Regions from separate parts of the Homo sapiens genome. Here all the other regions are linked to region 5. Evidence: promoter capture Hi-C in human tissues and cell types (Jung and others, 2019). All regions are on one chromosome and are shown on one strand. The core of a region is centred on a gene start or on the middle of the fragment in contact, and the rest is flanking DNA. Distances in the headings are between cores, read along the strand shown.

Region 1 (4,009 bases), core at 631-3,130, 170 kb after region 5:
CATCCATTTTCTGGAAGTTACTGTCTGCTGGCTGTTGTTCTGATATTGATCTGTAGTTGGTTCAGGGCAGGTGATGTCTTCATGCTGTGTGGGAAAGTGAGTGCCAACAGTCTGTGCTGCATAGACTCGGCCTGTGTTGACATTTGTTTACCAACTGCCCTTTTTTTAACAGGCGTGGTATCTGTCTGTTTTGAGGGGGACAGTGATGGTTACATCAACTTAGTGGCCTATCCTTATGTGGAAAGTGAGACTGTGGAACAGGATGACACAACAGAACGGGAGCAACCTCGGCGCAAACACTCCCGCCGGAGCCTGCACCGGTCAGGCAGTGGCAGTGACCACAAGGAGGAGAAAGCCAGCCTGTCCCTTGAGACCTCTGAGAGGTAAGAGGTACATGTTTCGTCCTGCTGGTACAAGCACTCAAGACGTCTCCATAGTCCTGACACATCATGGGGAAGCAGGGCTCACAGTCAAGGTTGGATAAGATGACTGGTGTTCTTGGGATACCCACACAGGTGTAGCCTCTTCTCTGTGTCACATCACCCCAGTGGTGCCTCTTTCTGGGTATAGCTGTAGCTGGTTGAGAGAGGAAGTGAAGCTCTCTCAGCCGTTTGGAAGCAGGGACACCCTGTGCTGGTGACAAAAGGTTCTCTGGCTTTTCATTATGTCTTGCCACCCACAGGACAGAAGGTTGAAATACATTAGTTCGTAGCGAGGCTCCAAATGCTTTCTGACCTGCAGGATGTCCAAGCCCAAGGGCTATGAGTCCAACCAGGAGTTCCCTAATGGTTTTTGTGTCAGACCTCTGAGAATCATATCAGTCATTAACGCTTTCCCTGCAACTAAAATTTAGTTTCCGTTGTGTTGGAAATTGATTTTTCTTGTAAGTTCAAATTATGTTTTTTTGTTTGTTTTGAGATGGAGTCTTGCTGTTAGGCTGGAATGCAGTGGTGCCATCTTGCGTCACTGCAACCTCTCCCTCCTGGGTTCAAGCAATTCTCCTGCCTCTGCCTCCCAAGTAGCTGGGATTACAGGCGTGCACCACCACACCCAGCTAATTTTTGTATTTTTAGTGGAGATGTTGTGTCACCATGTTGGCTAGGCTGGTCTCGAACTCCTGACCTCAGGCGATTCGCCTGCCTTGGCTTCCCAAAGTGCTGGGATTATAGGCATGAGCCACTGTACCAGCCTCAAATTATGTGTCTTGATAATTTCATGCAAGAATTAATATGAACTCCCACTAGGATGGGTATAATCAAAAGGACAGACAATAAAAGTGTTGACAAGATGTGAAGAAATGGAACCCTCCTACACTGCTGGTAGGAAGGTAAAGTGGTGCAGCCACTTGGGAAACAATTTAGCAGTTCTTCAAAAAGTTAAACCAGGCTGAGTGCTGTGGCTCACGCTTGTAATCCTAATGCTTCAGGAGGCTGAGGTGGGAGGATCCTTTGAGGCCAGGAGTTTCAGACCAGCTTGGGCAACATAGTGAGACCCCATCTCTAAAAAAAAAAAAAAAAAAAAAAGGCCAGGCTTGGTGGCTCATGCCTGTAATCCCAGCACTTTGGGAGGCCAAGGCAGGCAGATCACGAGGTCAGGAGATCGAGACCATCCTGGCTAACACGGTGAAACCCTGTCTCTACTAAAAATACAAAAAAATTAGCCGGGCATGGTGGTGGGCACCTGTAGTCCCAGCTACTCGGGAGGCTAAGGCAGGAGAATGGCGTGAACCCAGGAGGCGGAGCTTGTAGTGAGCCGAGATCATGCCACTGCACTTCAGCCTGGGCAACAGAGCAAGACTCCATCTCAAAAAAAAAAAAAAAAAAATTAAATCCAAAAGTTAAACCAGTAATTCCACTCCTAGGTATATACCCAAAAGAATTGAATACATATATTCCCACAAAATTTGTACAAAAATGTTCTTAAAATTATTTCTATTAGGGTTGTTTCCAGTTTCTGGCTAACCCAAGTGTCCATCAACTGGTGAATGGATAAACAAAATATGGTATATCCATGTAATGGAATGTTAGCCCTAAAAAGGAATGGAGTGCTGGTACATGCTACAACATGGATGAATCATGAAAACATTATGTTAAATGAAAGAAACCAGACACAAAAGACCACATATGTACAATGCCATTTATGTAAAGTGTTCACATCAGGCAAATCTATAGAGAGAAAAGGTAGGTTAGTGGTTGCTTTCTGTTAGTAGTTAGGAGCTGGAAGTAGTGGGAAATAGGGAGTGACTGCTAATGATGATGGTTTTGATTTTGGGGTCATGAAATGTTCTGAAAATTAGGTAGTGGTGATGTTTTACAATCTTGTGAATTCACTAAAAAACCACAGAATTGTAAAAAATAAAAAAATAATAATAGAATTATGAGCCAGGCATGGTGTCTCACGCCTGTAATCCCAGCACTTTGGGAGGCCGAGGCGGGTGGATCACCTGAGGTCAGGAGTTCGAGACCAGCCTGACCAACATGGTGAAACTCCATCTCTAGTAAATACAAAAAATTAGCCAGGTGTGGTGGTGCGGGCCTGTAATCCCAGCTACTTGGGAGGCTGAGGCAGGAGAATCACTTGAACCCAGGAGGTGGAGGTTGCAGTGAGCTGAGATTACACCATTGCACTCCAGCCTGGGCAACAAGAGTGAAAACTCTGTCTCAAGAAAAAAAGGTTTCAGTAAGATGCTTTTGTGACTTGACTTAGAAGCTGAAATTGGGAATTTCCTTAGATGAGACAGTACATAGTTCATCTGTGATATCAGATCAGTTCACCAATACATGCTACATACCTGTGCCCCTGAAGCTTTGTAAAGGCCTAGGACATTCCAGTTCTCCTCACTCAGTTTGGTGAACAAGGACATGCCCATGTCAAGTACAGTACCCCATGAGACACTGGCTGAGTGGGGTTATGTGTCATTTCCCATGTCCTCAGTCAGCAGATCCTCTTTGGCCAGTCTGCATCTTTCATGCAAGGAGAGAGCTTCATACCCACTTCTTGGTAAGCAGGGTCTTCAAATGTCAAACGTTCTTTGGACAGATGGCTTCCAGTCCACAGAAGCACTTCTTCTAGTGCTTCCCCTTCACTCCCCAAGAGGCTGCTTCTTGACTAATGACTGTGGGACCTAACTTGGTCGTTCAGGTGACAAAGAATGTTCCCCAAGTCTGTAGCTGACAATTGATGGTTCTCTCTGAACAGCGCTTTAGGGTGGGCTTTTCCCCCCACTCTTTTTAGAGACAAGGTCTTGCTCTGTCACCCAGGCTAGAGTGCAGTGGCACCATCAGTGACTCACTGCAGCCTTGAATACTGGGCTCAAGCCTTCCTATCCCCTCTCACCTCAGCCTCCCAAGTAGCTGGGACTACAGGTGCACACCACTGCATTCAGCTAATTTTTAAATTTTTTGTAGAGATAGGGTCTCACTTTGTTGCCCGGGGTGGTCTGAAACTCCTGGCTTCAAGCAGTCCTCCCACCTTGGCCTCCCAAAGCGTAAGGATTATAGGCATGAGCCACTGCGCCCAGTCTAGAGTGGGCTTTTTTTATTGTCCTCCAAAGGTACAGAGGTTGCTTCATGAGTCATCTGGTGAAAAGGTATAGAATAACATCACCTAGAATAACATCACTGTCCGCCTGTGTCCAGGTTCAAGGTCCTGCCCTGAAGGTGACAGCTCTACCTGTACTGACCAAACCTCTGTCTGACCTGTTAGCAGAGAGACCGTCATTCCAGGGGTGGGGCTTGTTTCTTCACAGAGCCAGGGCTGCAACACAAAAGGTGTGATACCAAGTACCGTGGGGGCTTCATCCAGACGCAGAGAACTTCTTTGGGTTTACATGGCAAATAAGTCAACCTTTCTGTTTCCTAAAGGGTTTCACAAAAAAAGGCATCTTTGAATGGCCTCAGCAGTGCTCTCACAGAAGAAAGTAAGGGTTTTATCATTCCGAGAGGCACTGGTGGGCTCCTCTACTTTCAGTTAGGTGGAAATGGGGTCTCTGCCACTACCTCTTCACCAG
Region 2 (4,649 bases), core at 1,615-4,114, 140 kb before region 5:
AGTAGAGTCTAAAGAAGTTTGCAAGAAATGGACTCATAGGGAGTTTTTAGAGAGACTGCCACAAAGCCCTTGTTTCTTGACAGCACTGCCAATCCCTCAAACTGGTCTGCTTAAGATGGGCTTTCTGTTCTTAAAACACCTACAATTGCTTTAGGTGCTGTGTCTAAGATAAAGAGTGCTACTAGTAAATGGCTGCTACCAGGAGTTTCAAGAACCATGTCAAACGGACCTGCAGAAAGAGCAAAGCCCGGGGAAGAAAAGTAACAGGTTTAAAACAGATGTGTCATTTCTCTTAGTATAAAAGATTACTTTTTATAGAAATCCTTTGTAAAGCAGTCAGGCTCATTCTTTATGGTACAAGGATATGTTATAGTTCAAATATTTTTTAAAACCCACTATTCCCAAAGGCCAAACCAAAATGAGATAGAAGAGGGAAGGAGGAGATGGAGGAAGAAAGAAAGTACAGTGGCTAAGGGAAGTACAAAGAATGCCCTATGTCAGCTCTATAGCTCTGCCTGTTGGCCTTCTCCATGTCCTCCATTTTGACTAGACTTTTTACCCAACAGGATCTGAGCTGCACTTTGAGCATCCAGGAGATAAGGCCCCACTGGGACTTCCAGTGAAAACACAATCCTACTTCAGTGTCCAATGTAAGGTTGAGGGGCATGAAGACACTGCCCTGTCAGCTGCCACTTCCTATCTTTTCTTGACTAGATGAAAGCACAACAAAAACTTTTACTAAAATGTTCTTGACAGCAAACGTTTTAGACTATATGACGCCAGCAACAACCAGCATCAAGCCAAAATCTTATTTGTGTTCTCTGAAGCAAAACGGCTGACTGTTTCACTGAGCCCCAGAGCCCCACCCACTAGGATCAGAGCTGGCAGAAGTCAGGGTCTCAAGATGAACTCTGCGGCTGGGCACAGTGGCTCACGCCTGTAACCCCAGCATTTGGGGAGGTCAAGGCAGGTGGATTGCTTGAGCTCAGGAGTTCGAGACCAGCCTGGGCAATGTGATAAAACCCCGCCTCTACAAAAAATACAAAATGGTAGTGTGCGCCTGTTATCCTAACTACTCCAGGGGCTGAGGTGGGAGGGTTGCTTGAACCTGTGAGGTCGAGGCTGCAGTGAGCCAAGCTCACGCCATTGCATTCCAGCCTGGGTGACAAAGTAAGACCCAATCTCAAAAAAAAAAAAAAGAATTCTGCTCTGGGAACACAATACACTCCAAGCCAGACCCTGACATAAGAAAATGTAAATATACACATATATATGTATATATCTATAGATATACATGTGTGTGTATATATATATGCATGTGTGTGTGTATATATATACACACGTGTGTGTGTGTGTGTGTGTGTGTATATATATATATATATATATATTTTTTTTTTTTTTTTTTTTTTTTTTTGAGAAGGAGCCTTGCTCTGTCACCCAGGCTGGAGTGCAGTGGTGCGATCTCAGCTCACTGCAAGCTCTGCCTCCCGGGTTCATGCAATTTTCCTGCCTCAGCCTCCCGAGTAGCTGGGACTACAGGCACCCATCACCACGCCTGGCTAATTTTTTGTATTTTTAGTAGAGATGGGGTTTCACCGTGTTAGCCAGGATGGTCTCGGTCTCCTGACCTCGTGAGCTGCCCACCTCGGCCTCCCAAAGTGTTGGGATTACAGGCGTGAGCCAGGGCACCCGGCCGAGAACTTAAATATTTTAAAGGTGTCTGGTGCTAAGAATATATTCCACCCACTTCACTACCACTCCTTGCAGGTCTTACATGCATTTTAAAGTAAGATTCAGGTTCTAGAAAATGCCTCCTATCATGATGAAAGAAAACCAGGGATCCGTAGTCTTGGAGGTAATTCCATGAACTTGGCTCCAGGAACATAGAAAGAACAGTGCCTACCAGGGGATCCACACGTCTCTCCTATTCTAAGGTTCCATTACATTTGTATTTGCGGCAAAAACAAAGAGGCAAAATATATAAATAAGCAAGTAAGTAAGTAATCAAAAGAGCCTCAAATCTTTTCTCTCCTTGTGAGAAGACAAGACTCTATCATAAAGACTGAGACTGTGAGGCAGACAGGGCATTCAACAAATTCCTTCATCACAGAATCTCCGTAGATTGCTTCTTACAATTTATAAACTCCAACTATTAGCACTCAGAACAACTGAAAAACTGAACCACTAAAATGCAGATTTTTAAAAAACTTTTCAGCTTGTTATAATTTTGTATCTTTTAGAGCAATGGTTCACCTAACATTTATAAAAACCTTAGTCAAAATTTCTCTGGTTAATAATTTATTTCCGTATGCTGGGTGCGGTGGCCCATGCCTGTAATCCCAGCACTTTGGGAGACCAAGGGTGGGGGGGGGGGGGGTGGATCACCTGAGGTCAGGAGTTCGAGACCAGCCTGGCCAACATGGTGAAACCCTGTCTCTACTACAAGTACAAAATTAGCTGGGTGTGGTAATGGGCGCTTCTAATCCCAGCTACTCGGGAGGCTGAGGCAGGAGCATCGCTTGAACCTGGGAGGTGGAGGTTGCAGCGAGCCGAGATTGTGTGATTGCACTCCAGCCTGGGTGAAAAGAGCGAGACTCCATCTCAAAATAAATAAATAAATAATAATAATTTATTTTCACACAAAGATATGGCCTAATTCTTGGTGGAAGTAAAATATCACATTTTGACATATTTTACTGATAATTCTCAGAATTCCCTTCAGAATTCAGAATTCTATAACCTCTATCTTATTTTTTTCCTCTTTCCTGAGTTGATTCCAATCACATAGCAATGAAATAAAAATACTCACAAAGTAGAATATGTACAGAAACAAGATACAGCTTGTTCTTTTCTGACAATTGAATCAGTTAACCCTAAAATAATTATGAGGTATGTAGGGCAAGGGCTTTTAGTCCCAGATAAAAGAGAGGCTCTCTCCTACTGCAATTAGGGACATCCCCCACCTCAACACAGAGTGAAGGGCAGCTGATTTACATCATTTCTTTTCTTCTTTTTCTTCTTTTTTTGGGGACGGAGTCTTGCTCTGTTGCCTAGGCTGGAGTGCAGTGGCGCGATCTCGGCTCACTGCAAGCTCTTCCTCCTGGGTTCACGCCATTCTCCTGTCTCAGCCTCCTGAGTAGTTGGGACTACAGGTGCCGGCCACCACACCTGGCTGATTTTTTTTGTATTTTTAGTAGAGACGGGGTTTCACCCTGTTAGCCAGGATGTTCTCGATCTCCGGACCTCATGATCCGCCCGCCTCGGCCTCCCAAAGTGCTGGGATTACAGGCGTGAGCCCCTGTACCCGGCCTGATTTACATCATTTCTATAACACTTTTATATTCTGAGATGACTACTATTGGAGCTCCCTGGCTCTTTTCTTCTGGAAAAAGTAGACTCTAAATTCAACATCAAGGCATGCTTCATTGAATAGGTCTCTAAACTGAATCACTATAGAGAAAAACAAATAGGGAGTTTGGTAAATAAATGTGGAAAATATAAAGCTTCTTAATTTGCTTTGTTTACCAAAGAATATAATAAAACTATTCCTTTTTCTTAAAAACTTAATGGCAGGAGGTGGTAGAGAACAGCCAAGAGAGCAGACTGAGGCCCACAAGACCTAAGATACTGTACAGGCCTCACTGCTGAGCCCATCACAAAGCCTGCACAGTATTCCCCAGGCATCCCCAAAGAACCAGCAGCTATTCTTCAGGATCCACCATCCAAAAGAGACATTGGAACCGGCAGCGGTGGCTCACACCTGTAATCCCAGCACTTTGGGAGGCTGAGGCGGGTGGATCACCTGAGGTCAGGAGTTCAAGACCAGCCTGGCCAACATGGTGAAATCCCATCTCTACTAAAAATACAAAAATTACCCGGGCATGGTGGCGGGCGCCTGTAATCCCAGCTACTCAGGAGGCTGAGGCAAGAGAATCACCTGAACCTGGGAGGTGGAGGGTGCAGTGAACCAAGATCGTGCCACCACACTCCAGCCTGGGCAACAAGAGCAAAACTCTGTCTCAAAAAAAAAAAAAAAAAAAGGAAAGAAAAGAAATTTGCCACGCATGGTGGCTCATGTCTATAATCCCTACACTTTAGAAGGTCAAGGTGGGAGAACTGCTTGAACCCAGGAGCTCGAGACCAGACCAGCTCAGGGAACACAGTGAGACCCCATCTCCATTGCTATTAAAACAAAATTTTTTAATGGGAAAAAAAATAAAAAGAGACATTATTTCTACTGACCCTTTATCTATCACCTCCCACCCAAGTACTTGAGCTTCCTCAAAGGTATCTTTAGCCCCTCTGCCTGTAACGTCCTCAAAGAGTCTTGCTGACTTGATTTCTGCAGAAATAGTGCCTTGAAAATATTAATAAAATACAGAGCCTCTGGACTTCTGAATACATACTGTTCAACTAATATTTTAGGGAGGTGACTATGCCCCCCTGCTTTTTTTGAGACAGGGTCTTGCTCTGTCACTCAGGCTAGAGTGCACTGGTGTTGTATGATCATAGCTCATTGTAGCCTTGATCTCCTGAGCTCAAGCAATCATCCCACCTCAGCTTCCTGACAAGCTGGGACAATACGTGCATGTCACCAAGTCTGGCTAATTTATTTTATTTTATGCAGACATGGGGTCTTCCTATGATGC
Region 3 (4,638 bases), core at 1,872-4,371, 140 kb after region 5:
TCTCTTGAAGAGACTAGAATTGCTGGGTCATAGGATAGATGTATGTTTAGCTTTATAGGAAACTATAATACCTTTTCCAAAATGGTTGTACCATTTTTACACTCTCACCAGTAATGTATGAGAGTTGTGGTTGTTCCACATTTAGCAACATTAAGTGTGTTGTAGTGTGTTTTTAATTTTAGCCATTTGGGTGAAAGTATAGTGGTAACTCATTGTGGTTTTAATTTTCACTTACCTGAATGCTAATGATATTGAGCACCTTTTCCTGTACTTAATGGTCTTTGTGTATCTTCGTTTGTGAAGTATGTATTCAAATCTGTTGCCCATTTTTTTTTAAAATTGGCTTTTTTATTTTTTAAAGAAATGTATCTTTTAGAGATAGGGCCTCCCTATGTTGCCCAAGCTGGACTTGAACTTCTGGGCTCAAAGGATCCTTCTGCCTCATCCTCTCAAGTAGCTGGGACTATAGGTGTTCACCACTGTGCCTGGCAGGGTTTTTTTTTTTTTTTTTTTTTTTTGTTACTGAGTTTTAGGAAGTTTTTTTGTATTCTGGATACTATATTTTTTGTTTTTTGTTTTGTTTTTTTAGAGACAGGGTCTTGCTCTGTTGCCCAGGCTGGAGTGTAGTAGCGTGATCATAACTTAGTGTACCCTCTAACTCCTGGGCTTAAACGACCCTCCTGCCTCAGCCTCCCTAGTAGCTAGGACTACATGTGCATACTACCATGCCCAGCTTATTTTCTTTTTAAAAATTTTTTGTAGCAACGGAGGTCTCAGCATATTTGCCCAGGCTGATCCTGAACTCCTGACCTCAAGCATTCCTCTTGCCTGGGCCTCACAAGATGCTAGGAATACGGGTGTGATCAAGACTCCATCTCATAAATAAATAATCAGAGGTTTTCAATTTTGATGAAGTCCGATTTATCAATAATTTCTGTTATGGTTATTGCTTTCTGTGTTCTGTCTGAGTGTCTGAGGACACCTTGCCTACCTCTTAAGTGTTGGACATTTCTAGCAAGGCTTGAAGTCAGGTAGTGTAAATCATATAACTTTATTTTTTTTGAGACAGGGTCTGGTTCTGTCACCCAGGCTGGAGTGCAGTGGCATGATCTCCGCTCACTACACCCTCCACTTCCTGGGCTCAAGCCATTCTCCCACTTCAGCCTCCCGCGTAGCTAAGACTACAGGTGAGCTCTGCACACCTTGGCCTCCCAAAGTGCTGGTATTATAGGTATGAGCCACCATGCCCAGCCTAACTTTATTTTTTGTGTTTTCACCTACAAGCTTTCTAGTTTTAGCTTTTACATTTTGGTCTCTGAGTCATCCTAAGTTAATTTTTGTTATTGTGTGAGATTGGGGCTGGTGTTTCTTTTTCCCCCACATAGATAACTGATTGTTCCATTACTAGCAACATTTGTTGAAAAGACTTGTGTATTATCTATTGCTCTGTAACAAATTATTCCAAAACTTAGCAGTTTAAAACAGCAAACAGTTATTACCTCAGTTTCTGAGGGCTAGGAATTCAGAAGTGGCCCAGGCTAGAGTGAAGTGGTGATCACAGCTTACTGCAGCCCTGGCCTCCTGGGCTTGAGTGATCCTCCCAACTCAGCCTCTCAAGCTGGAACTACAGGCATGCACCACCATGCAGGGCTAGTTTTTTCTATGTTTTGTAGAGATGTTGCCCAGGCTGGTTTTGAACTCCTGGGCTCAAGTGATCTTTCCCTGTTGGCCTCCCAAAGTGTTGGGATTATAGGCCTGAGCCACCATGCTTGGCTTAGAGGATCTGTTTTCAAGATGACTTATTCATAAAGCTCTTTGCAGGAAGCCTCAGTTCCATATTGTTTATCTCTACCCAGGGCTTTTGTTTGTTTGTTTTTAAATTTTCCCTACTTTAAAGCTAACAAGTTATACACAGGGCTCTTTGAGTTTCCTCATGGCGTGCAGTTATCTCCTACAGAAATGATCTAAGACAAAGTAAGGAAGAAACCATGAAGCCTCTTATGACCTAGTCATACACTGTCACTTCTGCCATATTCTTTTCATTAGAATGAGTCCCTAAGTCTAGCCTGTACTCAAGGAGAGAGGAGGATTTCACTTTTTAGAGGGAAGAATGTAAAAAAATTTGACATAGTTTAAAACTACCAAAATTTTCTCTCCCCATTGGTTTGCTTTGGTACTTTTGTCGAAAAACAATTGACTGTTATATCCTGATTTGTCGCTGGCAAAAATCCCAAAAACAATTGACTCTGTAGATATGGGCCTGTTTGTGAAATCTGTGTTCTGTTCCATTGATCTATTTGTTTATCCATATGCCAGTACCCCACTACTGTAGCTTTATAGGAAGTCTTGACATGAGGCAGTGTAAATAACCCAACTTTATTGTTTATCAAGATTTATTTGAATATTACAGTTTCTTTTTATTACCATATAAATTTTAGAATTAGCTTGTCAATTTCTGTAAAAAAGTCTCCTGCCATTATGGTTGAGATTCCACTGAATTTATAGATTCATTTGGGGAGAATTGACATCTTAACTATATTGAGCCTTCTAATCCATGTGCTGTGTGAGGCATATTTCTTGATTTATGCCTTCTTTACTATCTTGCTACATTATTTCATTGTTTTTAATGTAGAATTCTTTCACGTTTTGTTAAATTTGACCCAAGACATTTGATTTTTTTGATGCTATTGTAAATGAAATTTTTAAATTGTAGTAAATATACATGAGAAAATGTAGAATTTTAACTATTTTGAAGGGTATGATGCAGTGGCATTAAATACATTCACAATGATGTTTTGAGAACTACTTTCATCATCCCAAATAGGAACTCTCCCCATTATATAGTAACACCCCATTCTCACCTCCCCCAGCCCCTTGTACGTTCTTAATAATCTTTTTGTCTCAATGAATTCGCCTATTTTATTTTATTTTATTTTTGAGACTCAGTCTCACTCTGTCACCGAGGCTGGAGTGCAGTGGCCCAGTCTTGGCTCACTGCAGCCTCCGCCTCCCAGGTTTAAGTGATTCTCCTGCCTCAGCCTCTCAAGTAGCTGGGATTACAGGTGCCCGCCACCACGGCCGGCTAATTTTTGTATTTTTGGTAAAGATGGGGTTTCACCATGTTGGCCAGGTTGATCTCGAACTCCTGACCTCAAGTGATCCACCTGCCTCAGCCTCCCAAAATGCTGGAATTACAGGCTTAAGCAACTGTGCCCAGCCCTGTTTTATTTTATGTAAGTGGAATTATAATTATATAATTTTTTCCCTTTTGTGCCTGGCTTATTTCACTTAGCAAAATGTTTTCAAGATTCATCCATGTTGTGACATGCATCAGAATTTCATTCCTTTTTAAGGCTGAATAATATTTCACTGTATGTATATACCGCATATCTTTATCCATTTATCTGTTGATGGACATGGGTCGTAGACACCATTTGGTTATTGTGAATAATGCTGTGAACATTGGTGTATAAATATCTGTTTTGGATTCCTCCTTTCAGTTCTTTTGGGTATAGACCTAAAAGTGGAATTGTTGAATCATATGGTAATTCTATGTTTAACTTTTTGAGGAATTGCCATACTGTCTTCTTTACATTCTCACCAGCAGTGCACAAGTGTTACAATTTCTTCATATCCTTGCCAACACTTATTTTCTATTTTTTTTTTTTTTTTATAACTTGGATGTGAAGTAGTTTCTCATTGTGGCTTTGATTTGCATTTCCCTAATGACTAATGAAGTTGAGCATCTTTTTGCATATTTTTTGGCCATTTGTAAATCTTCAGAGAAATGTCTAAGGCCTTTGCCCATTTATGAATTGGGTTATTTTTGTTGTTGTCGAGTTATACAAGTACTTTATATGTTCCATGTATTAATCCTTTATCAGATGTATGATCTGCAGATATTTTCTGCTATTCTGTGGGTGATGTTTTCACTCTTTTTAAATTAATTAATCGGTTTTTTAGAATAGAGATGGGATCTCACTATATTGCTCAGGGTGGTCTCAAACTCTTGGGCTTAAGTGATCCACCTGCATCAGCCTCCCAAAGTGTTGAGATTACAGGTATGAGCCACTGTACCCAGACTAATTTTATTTTTTTAAGTTGTTGTTATTATTATTATTATTTTTTGAGATGGAGTCTCACTCTGTCACCTAGCCTGGAGTGCAGTGGCGTGATCTCTGCTCACCACAGTTTCCGCCTCCCGGTTCAAGTGATTCTCCTGTTTTAGCCCCCCGAGTACCTGGGATTACAGGCACGTGCCACCACAACTGGCTACTTTTTTGTATTTTTAGTAGAGATGGGGTTTCACCATGTTAGCCAGGCTTGTCTTGAACCCCTGACCTCAGGTGATCTGCCCACCTCGGCCTCCCAAAGTGTTGGGATTACAGGCGTGAGCCACCGCGCCTGGCCAATTATTATTATTTTTTAAGAGATAGGGTCTCATCCTGTCACCCAGGCTGGAATGAGTGATATGAATGTAGCTCACTGCAGCCTCAAACTCCTGGGCTTGAGTGACTGCCTGCCTGCCTCAGCCTTCCAAGTAGCCGAGACTACTGGTATGAGCCAGTGCAACTCAGCTGATTTTTTAAAAATAAAAAAAAAAATTTTGTGGAGATGGGATCTTGTTAAGTTGCCCAG
Region 4 (4,330 bases), core at 35-2,534, 220 kb after region 5:
AGGTTGTGTCCTCTGTGGTTATCCCACTGGGGGCTGGGAATCTATCCCTGCCCCCAGAGGTCCTAGCCAGAAGATGGCAGGTCTAGCATCTGTCCCAGGAGTCTGTTACCTGTCCTAATTCCCCACTCCTCTAGGCAGGGCCAGCATTTCTGCGGGGGGTCTCTAGTGAAGGAGCAGTGGATACTGACTGCCCGGCAGTGCTTCTCCTCCTGGTGAGCCTCCCTTGTGTTTGGGGACCCAGTCTCATCCCACCTTCCCCCTTCCCCAGGCAAGCTAACAAGTGAGCCTTGGGGCAATGGACTGAGAGTCACAAATGACCTAGCAGAGCTTCTCTCCCAGCCATATGCCTCTCACGGGCTATGAGGTATGGTTGGGCACCCTGTTCCAGAACCCACAGCATGGAGAGCCAAGCCTACAGCGGGTCCCAGTAGCCAAGATGGTGTGTGGGCCCTCAGGCTCCCAGCTTGTCCTGCTCAAGCTGGAGAGGTATGTGGACAACCTGGGAGGGTGTGAGGTGGGGCTGGGCCTTGTGGCCTCAGACCCTGAGTGCCCCCATTCTTGCTAAAGATCTGTGACCCTGAACCAGCGTGTGGCCCTGATCTGCCTGCCCCCTGAATGGTATGTGGTGCCTCCAGGGACCAAGTGTGAGATTGCAGGCTGGGGTGAGACCAAAGGTAAGAGCACAGTGCACAGGACTGCTGGTGGCCAGGAGGCCCAGCCCTGGATCTTCCTGCAGGACCCTCTCCCTCTCCCCATTCCCCTCACTGCAGGTACGGGTAATGACACAGTCCTAAATGTGGCCTTGCTGAATGTCATCTCCAACCAGGAGTGTAACATCAAGCACCGAGGACGTGTGCGGGAGAGTGAGATGTGCACTGAGGGACTGTTGGCCCCTGTGGGGGCCTGTGAGGTTGGTGGCAGGGCCCTGGGCCAGCCCTGGAAGGGTATGGGGGGCTAGAAATGAACTATTTTATCATGAAGCAGGCTAGTCATTGCTGTGGCCCGGGGCCCTCATCAGTTCTCCTACCTGCCAGGGTGACTACGGGGGCCCACTTGCCTGCTTTACCCACAACTGCTGGGTCCTGGAAGGAATTATAATCCCCAACCGAGTATGCGCAAGGTCCCGCTGGCCAGCTGTCTTCACGCGTGTCTCTGTGTTTGTGGACTGGATTCACAAGGTCATGAGACTGGGTTAGGCCCAGCCTTGATGCCATATGCCTTGGGGAGGACAAAACTTCTTGTCAGACATAAAGCCATGTTTCCTCTTTATGCCTGTACAGATGCTTCTTAGCCTTTGCTTCCAGGAAATGTGTCAGTGACTCCTTGCTAGGGCTCGGGTGGCTTGAGCCCAGCACACCCTGGGCTAGGTGATCTGTCCAGCCTAGGGGCTTCCCCAACCAAGGCAATGTCCCTGGGACTACTTTTGCCCATGGGTGCCGTGGAAAGACAGGGCCTCACACTAGTCCTCCAGACATACTCTTGGGAAGGGTGGTACAGAGTAGTTGCTAATGGAAGGGGCTGCAGCAGGGAAGCTAGGCTGGTACAGAGTCCTGGTTGCCAGGACAGGCAGAGGCTAAGCCTCTCACTGTTCCCTCCCTTCTCACACTGGAGGCAGATGAAGCCCTTGTGGCTGCCACACCCAGAACCTAGGGTCTCTGCACCCCAGAGTGGGAGGTGGGGTTGGGGATGGTTTGGTACAAAGTACCAGCAGGAACCAGGCTCTGTGTCCTAATTTATTATGACTACATAGCCCACATTCCTCTGCCCACGCATCCGTGGAGTCCAGAGCCCAGAAAGCCTCCTGCTGCCCTGCCAGACCGTTGAGCTCCTCAAGAGCGAAGTGTGGCACAGGCTGATCAGCTCATGCAGAATGGCAGGGCTTCAGCTGCCCAAGTGTGTGCGTAGCCAGAGCACAGCATTCATGAAGCTGTCTGACTCCACCTCCACCTCTGATAATGCGTGGGTGCTTTTGGGATAGAGCAGGAGCCTGTAGGGATTAGTCAGCAACATTTAAGGTTGGAGGGTCCTCCTGTGCTCACCTGCCCACCAGCTGCCAGGGCCTTCATGCTGCACTCACCGAACAGGCACATTCCGGGTCTTGAGGGCACGGTAATACTCCATGCCCTGCTTGAAGGGCACACGCCGGTCCTCCTGGCCCAACATCAGTAACAGTGGTGTCTTCACCTGGGTGTTTGGGGAAGAGTGGGGAGCTGTGTTGAGCTGGGCCCTGGATTCTGGATGGATGGGCAGCACACAGGGCAAGGAGGGGGCTGCATACCTGAGGGATGTATCTGATGGGCGATTTGTCCAGCATCTCAGCCCACACGCTGAGGTCTGGCAGGCAGTCACTGCTGAAAGGAAAGCCAGCCTCCACCACGCACCTGCAAGACACCGAGCTGTTGCAGCCCCAGGAATTCTGGGGCTACGGGGCTCCATGAGAATTTGAGGTAGAGGAGGGAAGGGCAGGGACCTGTGGTGTATGCCTACCAGTCAGGGATGTCAGTGGAGCCCAACATGGAGGCGATGTTGATCACGGGGTTCCGGGCCACGCAGGCCCTGTAGGTCTCTGGGTACTGACCAATCAAGTGGCAGGAAATGAAGCCACCATGGGAACCACCCATAAGGGCCACATGGCTTGCATCAAAGTGTTCCTCCTGGAGCACCTGTTCCACTGCAAACTGCAGGGTGGGACAAAGCATGCTGCAGCCAGCTGCCCGCTCAGCTGAATGGAGGCATCCCCCTGGCAGCCCATGTTTCAGCCTGTCCAGAAGCCCCAGCCCCTGCTACCTGGACATCCTTCACATCCTGGTGGCCCACATTGCCTGGGAGGGAGAGGATGCTGTCCTGGCCAAAGCCCGTGGAGCCACGATAGTTCACTGAGGGCAGGGAGGGACCAGACAGTGTAGTCAGGCAACATTCCCAGCCCCCTCGACGCTCTTTTCACACATCTGTGAAGTAGGCCCTGGGGCCAGCTATACCACAGACTGTCAAGGGGTCAAGGGGAAGGGACTCAGAGATTTGAGGCTGCCACCCAGTGACCACAGCGCCCTTTCCTTGGAAGTCCCGAGTTAGTCCTTGTTATCACTATGCCACAGAACCAGAGGCTGGGCCCCAGCAGTTCCTGGTAGTGGTTACTAGGTCTAGGCTAGAGAAAGTCCTGGAGACTAGAGTGGCACCCATGGTACTTATACAAACCAGGTCCACCCCCGTCACTCCACTGTAGTCCTAACAGAACTGTGGGTCCCTGCTCACTCACCTAGTAGTACCGCAAAGCCCATCTTGCAAAGCATGGCTGGGAACAGCATCCAGGCAGTGACAAAGGATGAATGGGGCCCCCCTGCAGACAGGGAGCGGAGGGTGAAAGGGCCAGCTAGGAAGAGGGCTGGGAGGGCAAGGGCTCTTAACGCCAGATGCCTACCGTGGGGCATGACCACCATGGGCACTTGGGTCTTATCTGGAGGGCTGCCAGGCTGCAGCAGGATTGCTTCAAAGTCAAGGCCAGCTGCAGGGAGAGGGCAGCAGTCAGCAGGGTGAGCCTAGGGGCTTCCCCAACTAAGGCCCCATCTCTAGCTGCAGGTGTGGGGCTGACCTCTGGGTCAGAGACCTGGCCAAGGTAGTCCACACCATGACACATGGACCCCAGAAGGCTCATACTTCTTCTGCCCTCGTCAGGGAACCCCATCCTGCAGCAACAGCATTCGGGATGAGGTGTGGTCACTGAGGCTTGTATGAGGCCTATTTTCTTTGGACCTGGGTCTTCCAACCACAGATGATTTGGCCTGGTGAAGCCCAGGTGATATCCAGAGCAGGCGCTCAGATGTCTAGATGCTACTTCCCATGCCCATCCACAAGAGGAACAGAAAACCTCTTAGAGGTCATCACCAGAAACCCCACAATGTGAGAGAGGAGGTAGCAAAGGTCACCGCAGAGGCTTTGTGCTGGGGAACCTGGAGAAGGCATCCCTCTGCCCCTGGCCCAGCTCACCATACTGCACATTCTCTTGCTCTGGGGGTGGCTGTAGCACCCGGATGCCCCAGTGGATGTCGGGAATGGGCTCGGCCTCCTCCAGGGACACCCACAACACTGACTGCTCCTTCCCTGCAGAAGGCAGGAACCCAACTTTCTGCCAAGGGGAAAGAATGTGTCATAGGTGGCCTGGCTGCCTCCCTGCCCTTCCCTTCTGCCCACAGTGGGAAATAGGCAGCTCTCACTATGCTGGGCCCTCTACCCACCTCCAGAAGGTACAGCATGGCTTCCTGTTGTGGGATGGTATATACCAAGGTATTCATACTCATACAATCACACACAGGCACACCCCTCCCTCCTCAGC
Region 5 (4,649 bases), core at 186-2,685:
TTTCACCATGTTGGCCAGATCTGTCTGTTCACCATGTTGGTCTTGAACTCCTGACCTCAAGCGATCCACCCGCCTCGGCCTCCCAAAGTGCTGGGATTACAGGCGTGAGCCACCACGCCCGGTCACATATTTTATTTTAAAAACATTTTTAGCAGTTTTTTTGTTTTGTTGAGTTTTGTTATGTTGCCCAGGCTGGTCTTGAACTCCTAACCTCAAGCAATCCTCCTGCCTTGGCCCCTCAAAGGAGTGCTAGGATTACAGGCATGAGCCACGGTGCCCAGCCCAGAACTACATTCTCATTGAAGAGAATAAGATCCAGCAAGGCCTACAGAGCATGTTGGAAGTGTCCTGAGAGCCAAAGCCCATGATTCCTCCATATCAGGGGGGCACTGGGTAGAGCCAGGAAGGAAGGGGGAGTCCCCAAGGCCCATACTGTGGACCCCATTATACAGCTTCCATATACTGAGGCTGCAGAGGAGGTATGGGCCTCCACTTACGTGCCTCTCTGACTCTGAGGTCCAGTCAGCAAGGCCAGATCCCATCCTAAGACCCTTATGGCCCTGGGAGAGCAGGGCATAACACACCTTCCTCTGACACCATCTTGTCGCTGATAGCTCAGGAGAAGCACATGGAAGAATGGTCCCGGCCGGGCGCGGTGGCTTACGCCTGTAATCCCAACAGTTTGGGAGGCTGAGGCGGGCGGATCACCTGAGGTCAGGAGTTTGAGACCAGCCTGGCCAACACTGTGAATCCTGTCTCTACTAAAAATACAAAATTAGCCGGGTGTGGTGGTGCGCGCCTGTAATCCCAGCTATTCAGGAGGTTGAGACAGGAGGAGGTTGAGGCTGGAGAATCGCTTGAACCTGGGAGGCGGAGTTTGCAGTGAGCCGAGATCGCGCCACTGCAATCCAGCTTGGGCCACAGAGCAAGACTCCTTCTCAAAAAAAAAAAAGGACAGTCCTTTCCCACAAAGGGTGGCGCCCCATAACATCTCTTGTAAGTGCCCCACATCTCCCCTCTGGTCTTCCACACAATCCTGGTCTCTGTTCTCCACATGGTGGGCCCCCAGGCCACCTCTGGGCACCAGCCACTGAGGGTGTTGCTACTAAGTGCAAACTAGTTCCACCGCAAGCAAAGAGCCCAGTGTCCTGCCCCCCTTCTCGCTGCGAACCAGTCGGTAGTGGGGGGATGGGATGGGACGGCTCAGACTGGCTCACCTCTCTCCAGGCCACACCATGCACATCCACCCACAGGCCGCTGAGAAAAAGGCGCCAAGACGCCAGGTGAAGGTACAGGAGCCAGGCCTCCAAGGGCCGGAAGAGTCGGATGGGCGGAGGGCCTGGGCTAGGCCAAGCCTTCCTCGCGGCCCCGCCCCCACGGCCCGACTCCGCCCGCCCAGCCCGGCGCCCTCGGGTCGGCTGAGCGCTAAGCGCCAGTGTACAGCGGCGGCTGGGGCGGCAGGTGAGGCGGCTGGGGCGTTGCTGTCGTGCGTCCGCAGGCGTCAGGTGCTCAGACCCGAGGGCCGGGAAGGGATTTGGGTTTCACAGGAACCTGGGGCGGGGGTCCGCTATCTTGGGGCTGTCGGGACCGCTGCTTAAATTTGGCCCAGTCCAGACCTCGAGTCGGGCCCCCAGCCAGGCCCACGCCCAGGTCCAGGCCCAGGCCGGTAGGGATCCTCTAGGGTCCCAGCTCGCCTCGATGGAGCTCCTCCCGCCGCTGCCTCAGTCCTTCCTGTTGCTGCTGCTGTTGCCTGCCAAGCCCGCGGCGGGCGAGGACTGGCAGTGCCCGCGCACCCCCTACGCGGCCTCTCGCGACTTTGACGTGAAGTACGTGGTGCCCAGCTTCTCCGCCGGAGGCCTGGTACAGGCCATGGTGACCTACGAGGGCGACAGAAATGAGAGTGCTGTGTTTGTAGCCATACGCAATCGCCTGCATGTGCTTGGGCCTGACCTGAAGTCTGTCCAGAGCCTGGCCACGGGCCCTGCTGGAGACCCTGGCTGCCAGACGTGTGCAGCCTGTGGCCCAGGACCCCACGGCCCTCCCGGTGACACAGACACAAAGGTGCTGGTGCTGGATCCCGCGCTGCCTGCGCTGGTCAGTTGTGGCTCCAGCCTGCAGGGCCGCTGCTTCCTGCATGACCTAGAGCCCCAAGGGACAGCCGTGCATCTGGCAGCGCCAGCCTGCCTCTTCTCAGCCCACCATAACCGGCCCGATGACTGCCCCGACTGTGTGGCCAGCCCATTGGGCACCCGTGTAACTGTGGTTGAGCAAGGCCAGGCCTCCTATTTCTACGTGGCATCCTCACTGGACGCAGCCGTGGCTGCCAGCTTCAGCCCACGCTCAGTGTCTATCAGGCGTCTCAAGGCTGACGCCTCGGGATTCGCACCGGGCTTTGTGGCGTTGTCAGTGCTGCCCAAGCATCTTGTCTCCTACAGTATTGAATACGTGCACAGCTTCCACACGGGAGCCTTCGTATACTTCCTGACTGTACAGCCGGCCAGCGTGACAGATGATCCTAGTGCCCTGCACACACGCCTGGCACGGCTTAGCGCCACTGAGCCAGAGTTGGGTGACTATCGGGAGCTGGTCCTCGACTGCAGATTTGCTCCAAAACGCAGGCGCCGGGGGGCCCCAGAAGGCGGACAGCCCTACCCTGTGCTGCGGGTGGCCCACTCCGCTCCAGTGGGTGCCCAACTTGCCACTGAGCTGAGCATCGCCGAGGGCCAGGAAGTACTATTTGGGGTCTTTGTGACTGGCAAGGATGGTGGTCCTGGCGTGGGCCCCAACTCTGTCGTCTGTGCCTTCCCCATTGACCTGCTGGACACACTAATTGATGAGGGTGTGGAGCGCTGTTGTGAATCCCCAGTCCATCCAGGCCTCCGGCGAGGCCTCGACTTCTTCCAGTCGCCCAGTTTTTGCCCCAACCCGGTAAGCTGAAAGAAGGGGCCCTTACTTGTGAGCTGCATGCACATGGCTGAACACAGGCTGCTTCCCTTCCATCACTGAGGGGATCTGGGGGCGCGGTGGGGGGGCAGGCGGAAAGAAGCATTCTCTCTCACCCAGTTCCTAAGTGCTGGGGTGGTGTGAGAAACCAGCCAGACAAAGGCTACACTGGAGGCTTAGCTCCCAGGCTGGCCCTTGTGGCTGCCTCATCTTGCTCTTTCCCCTACCTGCCCATCATGGCCTCTGGTTTTTTAGGTAGTTTCCCTGGCTATGTGAGGATAGGGTTACATAACCGTGTCTCTGTTAGCATAGCTCCTGAATGCTGGGTAGAATGATGGGCATTCCCTCCTACTTGTCCACCACCCATATCCTCAGGGACACACGCAGAAAAATAGCACTCCCCCCTCCCCTCCCCCACCCCCGCCACCACCACCACCACCACGCACAAATACACAGGGAGATGCTCACAGATTCACAGACTCACAGCTGCTTGCCAACAGTTTCACTTTCCCTTGTTTTGCTCTGCTTTCCAAAGGGGGTGGGACGGGAGTTGTCAGAGAATCTCCCCTTCCTCCACACCCCCTCCCCCCACCCACCCCCATCCTTCTGCCAGCCACCACGTTCCAGGGAGCCTCCTGGGCCTTGGAAGTTGGGAGCTTGTTAGGGAGCCTGCATGTCCTGGGCTTCACTAACGTTTTTGCCATGATTGGGGGTGATTGGGGGAGTACCCAGAACTCATGGAATGGCAGCTTGGTTCTAGAAGGTTCTGGGAGCCTCACTCTAGTCTTGTGCAAGCAACTATAAACATCTGGGGATAAGTAAAGGCCTAGGAAGGGCTGGTTGGAATTGGTCCATCCCAGACTTTTTTTTTTAACTGTATTTGGAGCCCTACCCCAGGCAGGAAGTCTCAAAGCCTGTGCTGAACTGGGGGCTCCTTCCACAGACTCTATCTAGGTTCTCTCCAGCCATCGTGTAGGCAACAGCAGTAAGATTGGACCAAGGAATGGGACCCACAGCTACTGTTCTTAGATTCTCTAGCTATCATCCTGTGGCCCTGGGCCTGCTGTGACATTCTCGAAAGACTCCTTTCCGCTCCTATTGATGCCTCGGAGATGGGAGAACTTACACCCAATGTGAGGTTGGGGGTCTTTAGCCTCCCTCCCTCTGCTGAGTACATCTGGGTTGAGAGGCCCTAGGGTTGGGGACTCCTTGTCTGGGCCTGGGCAGGCCTGCCTGGCCCCTTCTCCTTCCCAATGGGGAGTCAGAACCTCTCCCCAGCTTGCCTAGTGGTCAGTGGGTCAGAAGACACCCAGCACGGCTGGGCAGTGCCAGGCTCCAGGAAGACTAATCTTGGTCCCTGCTCACAGGCTGGCCAGGCCCCCAGGAGGTGTGTGAATCACCCCGTGCAGTGTTTGCCCAGCAACTCTGGGCATGCAGCCACTAGGGCAGCACCCACATAGTGGTTGGCCTCAGGAGGCCTGAGGGACTCAGAGCTGGTGCCTGTCCTCCATGGGACATTGGACACTTACGTGTTTTCAGGAGCTGGGGGCCCCTACCTAAGCCTGGGAACGTAGAGCTAAGGTCCTGGGGCTAGGGACAAGCAGGCTAGGGTGTGGGCCTGACTAAGGTAGGGCTCTATTCCCCTTCAGAGCCCCACCTGTCCCTGAGTCATGCTAGAAACACCTGGCAGCCTTCCGGCTCGGGCC
Region 6 (4,508 bases), core at 1,076-3,575, 200 kb before region 5:
TACATTAAAATCCCCACAAGTTTTTATTTTAACCACACAAAACAATCGTTTTTTTCTTTTTTAAGCATTTGTGCCTATAGTAAAACCTCATTAATTGTGACTTGGTTAACGCAGAATGCAAACTTTGGGCCACAGTGGGACTGACACTACCCTGCACTAAAGAAAGGCAGATGCAGAATGCAAACCAGGTGAGCAGACTTAATTCTAGAAAACAAAAGAACTTTCTGTGCTCTCACAATCATGAGCAGCATTATCTAACCTAAGGGAAAAGATTTAAAGAAAACAGACAAGTTGTTTAAGTACACTAAAATCTATACTTTTCCTCAGGCTCACAGTTAACAACCCTATTTGTCAGATTTTTGTTTTGTTTTTTTTGAGAGGCAGGGTCTTGTTTGTTGCCCAGGCTGGAGTGCAGTGGTATGACCATAGCTCACTGCAGCCTTCAACTCCTGGACTCAAGCAATCCTCTCACCTAAACCTCCTGAGTAGCTAGGACTACAGGTGTGTGCCACCACACCCAGATAATTTAAAATTTCTTTTTTTGTACAGGCAGGGTCTTGCTATCTCTTGCCAGGCTGGTATTGAACTCCTGTCCTCAAGTGATCTTCCCACCTTGGCCTTGCAAAGTGGTGGGATTACAGTGAGCCACTGCTCCCTGCCCCAGTTAGTAGGTTTTAATGCATATTGCAAACAGCTGAATCCAGTCTTACCAAACTTGTCTGCTCCACATCGGAAGCATTTTAGTCTTTTCCTGAAATTGTTAAGGCAGCACTGAAAAAAAAAGTTTTATCTGTAATTATTTCTCACATTAGGCCAGGCTTTCTAGTAACAATAACAGTGGGGCCACGGGTAGGTCCCAGTAACTAACAGAAAAGCAGAAAGTCTCACGTAGCTGAGACATGGGGACATAACCTAAAAAATTCAGAATGTAACACTGTTAAAATCTCCCAAGAAAAACAAAGTTTGTTGTATGTTGAAGAAGAATCCCATTATTATCAAGCCGAGGAAAGGGTTCAGTTAATTTGAAAACTCTACAGCAAGCCACTGGTGAAGCTCTTCCTTGTATCAACAGAGCACTATACATCCCATCCTACATACACAAACACAAGGTAAACTAACCACTGTCTAGTCCCCTACTGGACAGGGGACACAGTTTGAGCACTCTCAAAATATCAATGTCAACATTCAAGTTCAAAATGGTAAACCTTATATAACTTTAGCAGGGTTCTCAACTATTTTGGTTAATACAGTTAAGAGACTACGCCAAAAACTGAGAGCTCTAGAATTCAATAAACAGTAACATGAAACACACCTAAAATCTTAATCACTGGGCTTAGAACCTGCATCCTTTTTGTTGTCCTTTTTTGTTTTTTGAGACAGAGTCTCACTCTGTCACCCAGGCTAGAGTGCAGTGGCGCGATCTTGGCTCATTGCAACCTCTGCCTCCCGTGTTCAAGAGATTTTCCTGCCTCAACCTCCGAGTAGCTGGGATTACAGGCGCGCACCGTGATGCCCAGCTAATTTTTGTATTTTTAGTAGAGACGGGGTTTTGCCATGTTGGCCAGGCTGGTCTCTAACCCCTGGCCTCAAGCTATCTACCCGCCTTGGCCTCCCAAAGTGCTGGGATTACAGGCGTGAGCCACCATGCCCAGCAGAACGTGCATCTTAATAAACGAAACCTCTAGTTCTATCATCTAATACCAGTGTAGGAGGACCCAAGGAAAGTAACAAACCATGAATATTACTGATGATTGAGTAACAATTTCCTTGTTTGGACAGTCAAATAAACAAACAGAAAAAAACAGCAATATCCTAAAGGAGTTTTGTCTATTTGGGAAGAACATATGCTTACCTTGTTACAAAGCCAATCTTCAAACTTAGGTCTGGGATTGCTATAATGCATTGCAATGTGCTTTCCTTGAATCACCAACTTTTTCTGTAAGAAAAGAAGTAATTAGTTATTCCCATTGTGAGGAACATGTGTCCATTTTCCCAGGGCAGAGCACACTTCGGAAAAATCAGTGCTCTGGAATTAAATGGACAACATACGGGGAGGACCAACCACCGCCACCTATACTCTGCCCATCCAATCCTTCAGATAGGCAGTAAGAGAATGGGATGCGGAGTAAAGGTAAACGGAGTCAGGGAGTGCTGAGAAAGCTGTCAAACACTAAACGCTGACTTGCACCAGGCCGTGTCTCCAGCGGAGACAGAAGTCCTAACATTCAGCATTGACAGGCTGCCTGAGTGTGACAGTCTACTTCAAAAAGCAGAAGACACAATTCTCTCAGTTCTGAGACTGTCTCTTACTTTTGCCCTTAGCATGGTGTCCTTGGGCTTCGCTTCACCTTTTTCCCCAGTCCCCCATCCTTATGCAAAGTAAAAGCCTTTACATTTCTCCTTCCCCCCACACCTTCTGCTTCAGGATGAGTCCTTTGGGGGGAAAGGGAGGGGAACTCATTTTTAAAGGGAATCTGGTTACAATTCTTTCTCAAGAGGGACTATTCTGAATGCCACCAACTCTAAAACAACTAAATGAGATTTTTTTTTTCCTGTCAACTGCAACCATGTCATGTCCTAGGTGACAGATGTGTTTTTCACTAAAATGGATGGTACTCTCTTCAAGGTGAGTAACCAGGAGGCCAATGAAGTTTCTTCAGGGGGGTAGGAAAAGCTCATAAATGCACACACCACCTCATCCTTCAAGTCAACCATGTGACTACAAGGACTTAGCTTTAAAAAGTCAAAATTCTGAGCTGAATCAATCTAGCCAAGAGTATACCTAGCACCTACCCCTAAAGAGCCTTCATTTAACAGGAGCATCTTTTCTTTTTCTTGGGGGTGGGAGGATCAAGGGTGGGGGTGGTTTGACACTATCAAACAGATTTAAGTAGGTGGTTAGATATCCAGATTTTAAAAAGGAGTCTAACCCCTCTAAACATACATACTGTTGAGCAATTTGGTTCTTGCAAATCCTGGAAGATTTAAGACATGCTGTGAATTTTGTCTCTGCGATATCTAAAGGCAAGACTGCATGTCTGGCCAGGAGAGAAAAAGCTGAAGGGCCATCCACTCACTGTGATATACAGAAGCAAAAATAAAAAAGCTGGGAGATATGTGAATAGATCATCCCACTAGGAGGGATGTGTGCTGGGAGACTCCAAACTACCAGTGAGTCCCTAATCCTACTGGCCTTTTATTTCTGGAGTGAATTTGAACTGTAATGTGTTACACAGTAACATAGCTTTGTATACATTAAAATTGTGGAGACTTTTAAATGTCTTACAGGTTTTAGTTTCTTAGGAGTTTTAAACTCCTAGGTTAGTCATTCTGACATATCCACTGCATCAAACAATGCTATCATGTCAAGAAAGCAGACTCACATGAACCTTGTATATGTTCTGGATTTACTAGGATGGTATCTATGGTATGAAATGAATGAAGCTCTACTTTTAATAAAATCAGGCTGTGATTTCTGGGTTAGGAAAATGAGAGGCTTAAAAACTTTAACAAATCAGTCAGTCAAAGTGATACCCTCATTAGTGAGTCTTGTTATAAATGGCAATATTACCAATCAAAGAATGTAACTTTTATTCATGGATTCATGGATGACTCAAATCACAGAATGCTGCAGAAAAGCAAGATAATGAGTCAAGCAAACTTCCCAGAATGCACTTGGTTAAAGGCATTCAATAATGTGCCTTGGAGTTCTTGCAAAAAATGTTATTTAAGTGCCAAGCACTGAACATTATCTTGACAAACTGAAGAACACTTCAGTTAACACTACCTCGAAGAACCATCAATGACTTGCTTTGAACAGACTATAAAAGGCATTCTCAAGGAGATTAGAATGTTAATGCCACTCTAACTAGATTAGACAGCTGCAGGACACCACTCCCAGGCTAATCTCATCAGACTTATTGTTCATAAATTCCACTAAGTCCTTAAATATTCCCTGAAGACCGGTCTGAGCAGTTACGCCTCCAGGAGGCTTTGTGGTCTTCAGGCAGAAATAAGGAATTACTTATAAAAATGCCGCCACAGACTTTCACTATGTTCTCTTCACTGTCAAATGGAGAGTTTGATATACTAAGCTTACTCTCAATGGACATAATAGGAATATAACAAACTAGAAAAAAGGGAAACATTAAGATGTTTTAGTGATTACCAGACAGGTATTCAGTAGTTAACAAAGCCCTGCCAGGTAGGTAGCCATGTTTAAAGGCAGAACAAATTCTATAATGAAGTCCTTGGTACTGTACTTATTCTAGTAACATCAATTTTAATATATACAAAGCTTTTTTTTTAAAAAAAAGTCACTCCTTTGGAACAAACCACTCCTTCAACCTTTTTTTAAAATTGTACAGACTTGTTCCATTTTCATGAATATCTAGACTTGGTGAGTGAAGCAACCTGATTGGCTTCCATCCAGCTGGTAGCATCTTGCAAGTGATAAAACTCCACGAAGGCGAAACCACGGCTTACACCTAGAGACAGCATTCAGATAT

What was found. Contacts are between HindIII fragments. The study calls those that stand out against the background at their distance.
Region 1: a contact is called between a fragment that was not itself captured here and the fragment with the promoter of MST1R in region 5, in 1 of the 25 tissues and cell types used here (dorsolateral prefrontal cortex).
Region 2: a fragment that was not itself captured here is called in contact with the fragment with the promoter of MST1R in region 5 in 5 of the 25 tissues and cell types used here (IMR-90 fibroblasts, lymphoblastoid cells, mesendoderm cells and 2 more).
Region 3: a fragment that was not itself captured here is called in contact with the fragment with the promoter of MST1R in region 5 in 9 of the 25 tissues and cell types used here (IMR-90 fibroblasts, dorsolateral prefrontal cortex, liver and 6 more).
Region 4: a contact is called between a fragment that was not itself captured here and the fragment with the promoter of MST1R in region 5, in 1 of the 25 tissues and cell types used here (mesendoderm cells).
Region 6: a fragment that was not itself captured here is called in contact with the fragment with the promoter of MST1R in region 5 in 2 of the 25 tissues and cell types used here (dorsolateral prefrontal cortex and lymphoblastoid cells).

The regions. Positions count from the first base shown.
Region 1 is chr3:49,734,586-49,738,594 of GRCh38, reverse strand. It overlaps IP6K1 (inositol hexakisphosphate kinase 1), which reads left to right. Exons shown (of 6, transcript NM_153273.4): 3 at 173-383. Among named protein-coding and RNA genes, the nearest start is that of GMPPB, 13 kb to the right of the region's middle. The HindIII fragment of the contact is 5,046 bases long and covers 1-4,009 here.
Region 2 is chr3:50,037,211-50,041,859 of GRCh38, reverse strand. All of the region lies in intron 6 of RBM6 (RNA binding motif protein 6), which reads right to left. Among named protein-coding and RNA genes, the nearest start is that of RBM5, 49 kb to the left of the region's middle. The HindIII fragment of the contact is 5,977 bases long and covers 1-4,649 here.
Region 3 is chr3:49,767,069-49,771,706 of GRCh38, reverse strand. The region is part of intron 1 of IP6K1 (inositol hexakisphosphate kinase 1); the gene reads left to right. Among named protein-coding and RNA genes, the nearest start is that of IP6K1, 17 kb to the left of the region's middle. The HindIII fragment of the contact is 9,567 bases long and covers 1-4,638 here.
Region 4 is chr3:49,680,894-49,685,223 of GRCh38, reverse strand. APEH (acylaminoacyl-peptide hydrolase) reads right to left here. Exons shown (of 22, transcript NM_001640.4): 15 at 3,985-4,123; 16 at 3,419-3,502; 17 at 3,257-3,337; 18 at 2,788-2,876; 19 at 2,488-2,678; 20 at 2,279-2,381; 21 at 2,078-2,184; 22 at 1,253-1,987. The coding sequence ends at 1,882. It overlaps MST1 (macrophage stimulating 1), which reads left to right. Exons shown (of 18, transcript NM_020998.4): 14 at 135-212; 15 at 340-486; 16 at 568-674; 17 at 771-910; 18 at 1,035-1,277. The coding sequence ends at 1,196. Among named protein-coding and RNA genes, the nearest start is that of MST1, 6.4 kb to the left of the region's middle. The HindIII fragment of the contact is 6,358 bases long and covers 1-4,330 here.
Region 5 is chr3:49,900,659-49,905,307 of GRCh38, reverse strand. MST1R (macrophage stimulating 1 receptor) reads left to right here and starts at 1,435. Exons shown (of 20, transcript NM_002447.4): 1 at 1,435-2,928. The coding sequence starts at 1,699. RefSeq lists enhancers at 390-1,062, 1,051-1,100, 1,737-2,410, 2,411-3,084 and a silencer at 1,291-1,510. The HindIII fragment of the contact is 20,801 bases long and covers 1-4,649 here.
Region 6 is chr3:50,100,511-50,105,018 of GRCh38, reverse strand. RBM5 (RNA binding motif protein 5) reads right to left here. Exons shown (of 25, transcript NM_005778.4): 6 at 4,414-4,487; 7 at 1,853-1,936; 8 at 711-771. It overlaps RBM5-AS1 (RBM5 antisense RNA 1), which reads left to right and starts at 4,031. Exons shown (of 1, transcript NR_045388.1): 1 at 4,031-4,508. RefSeq lists a silencer at 4,376-4,508. The HindIII fragment of the contact is 9,297 bases long and covers 1-4,508 here.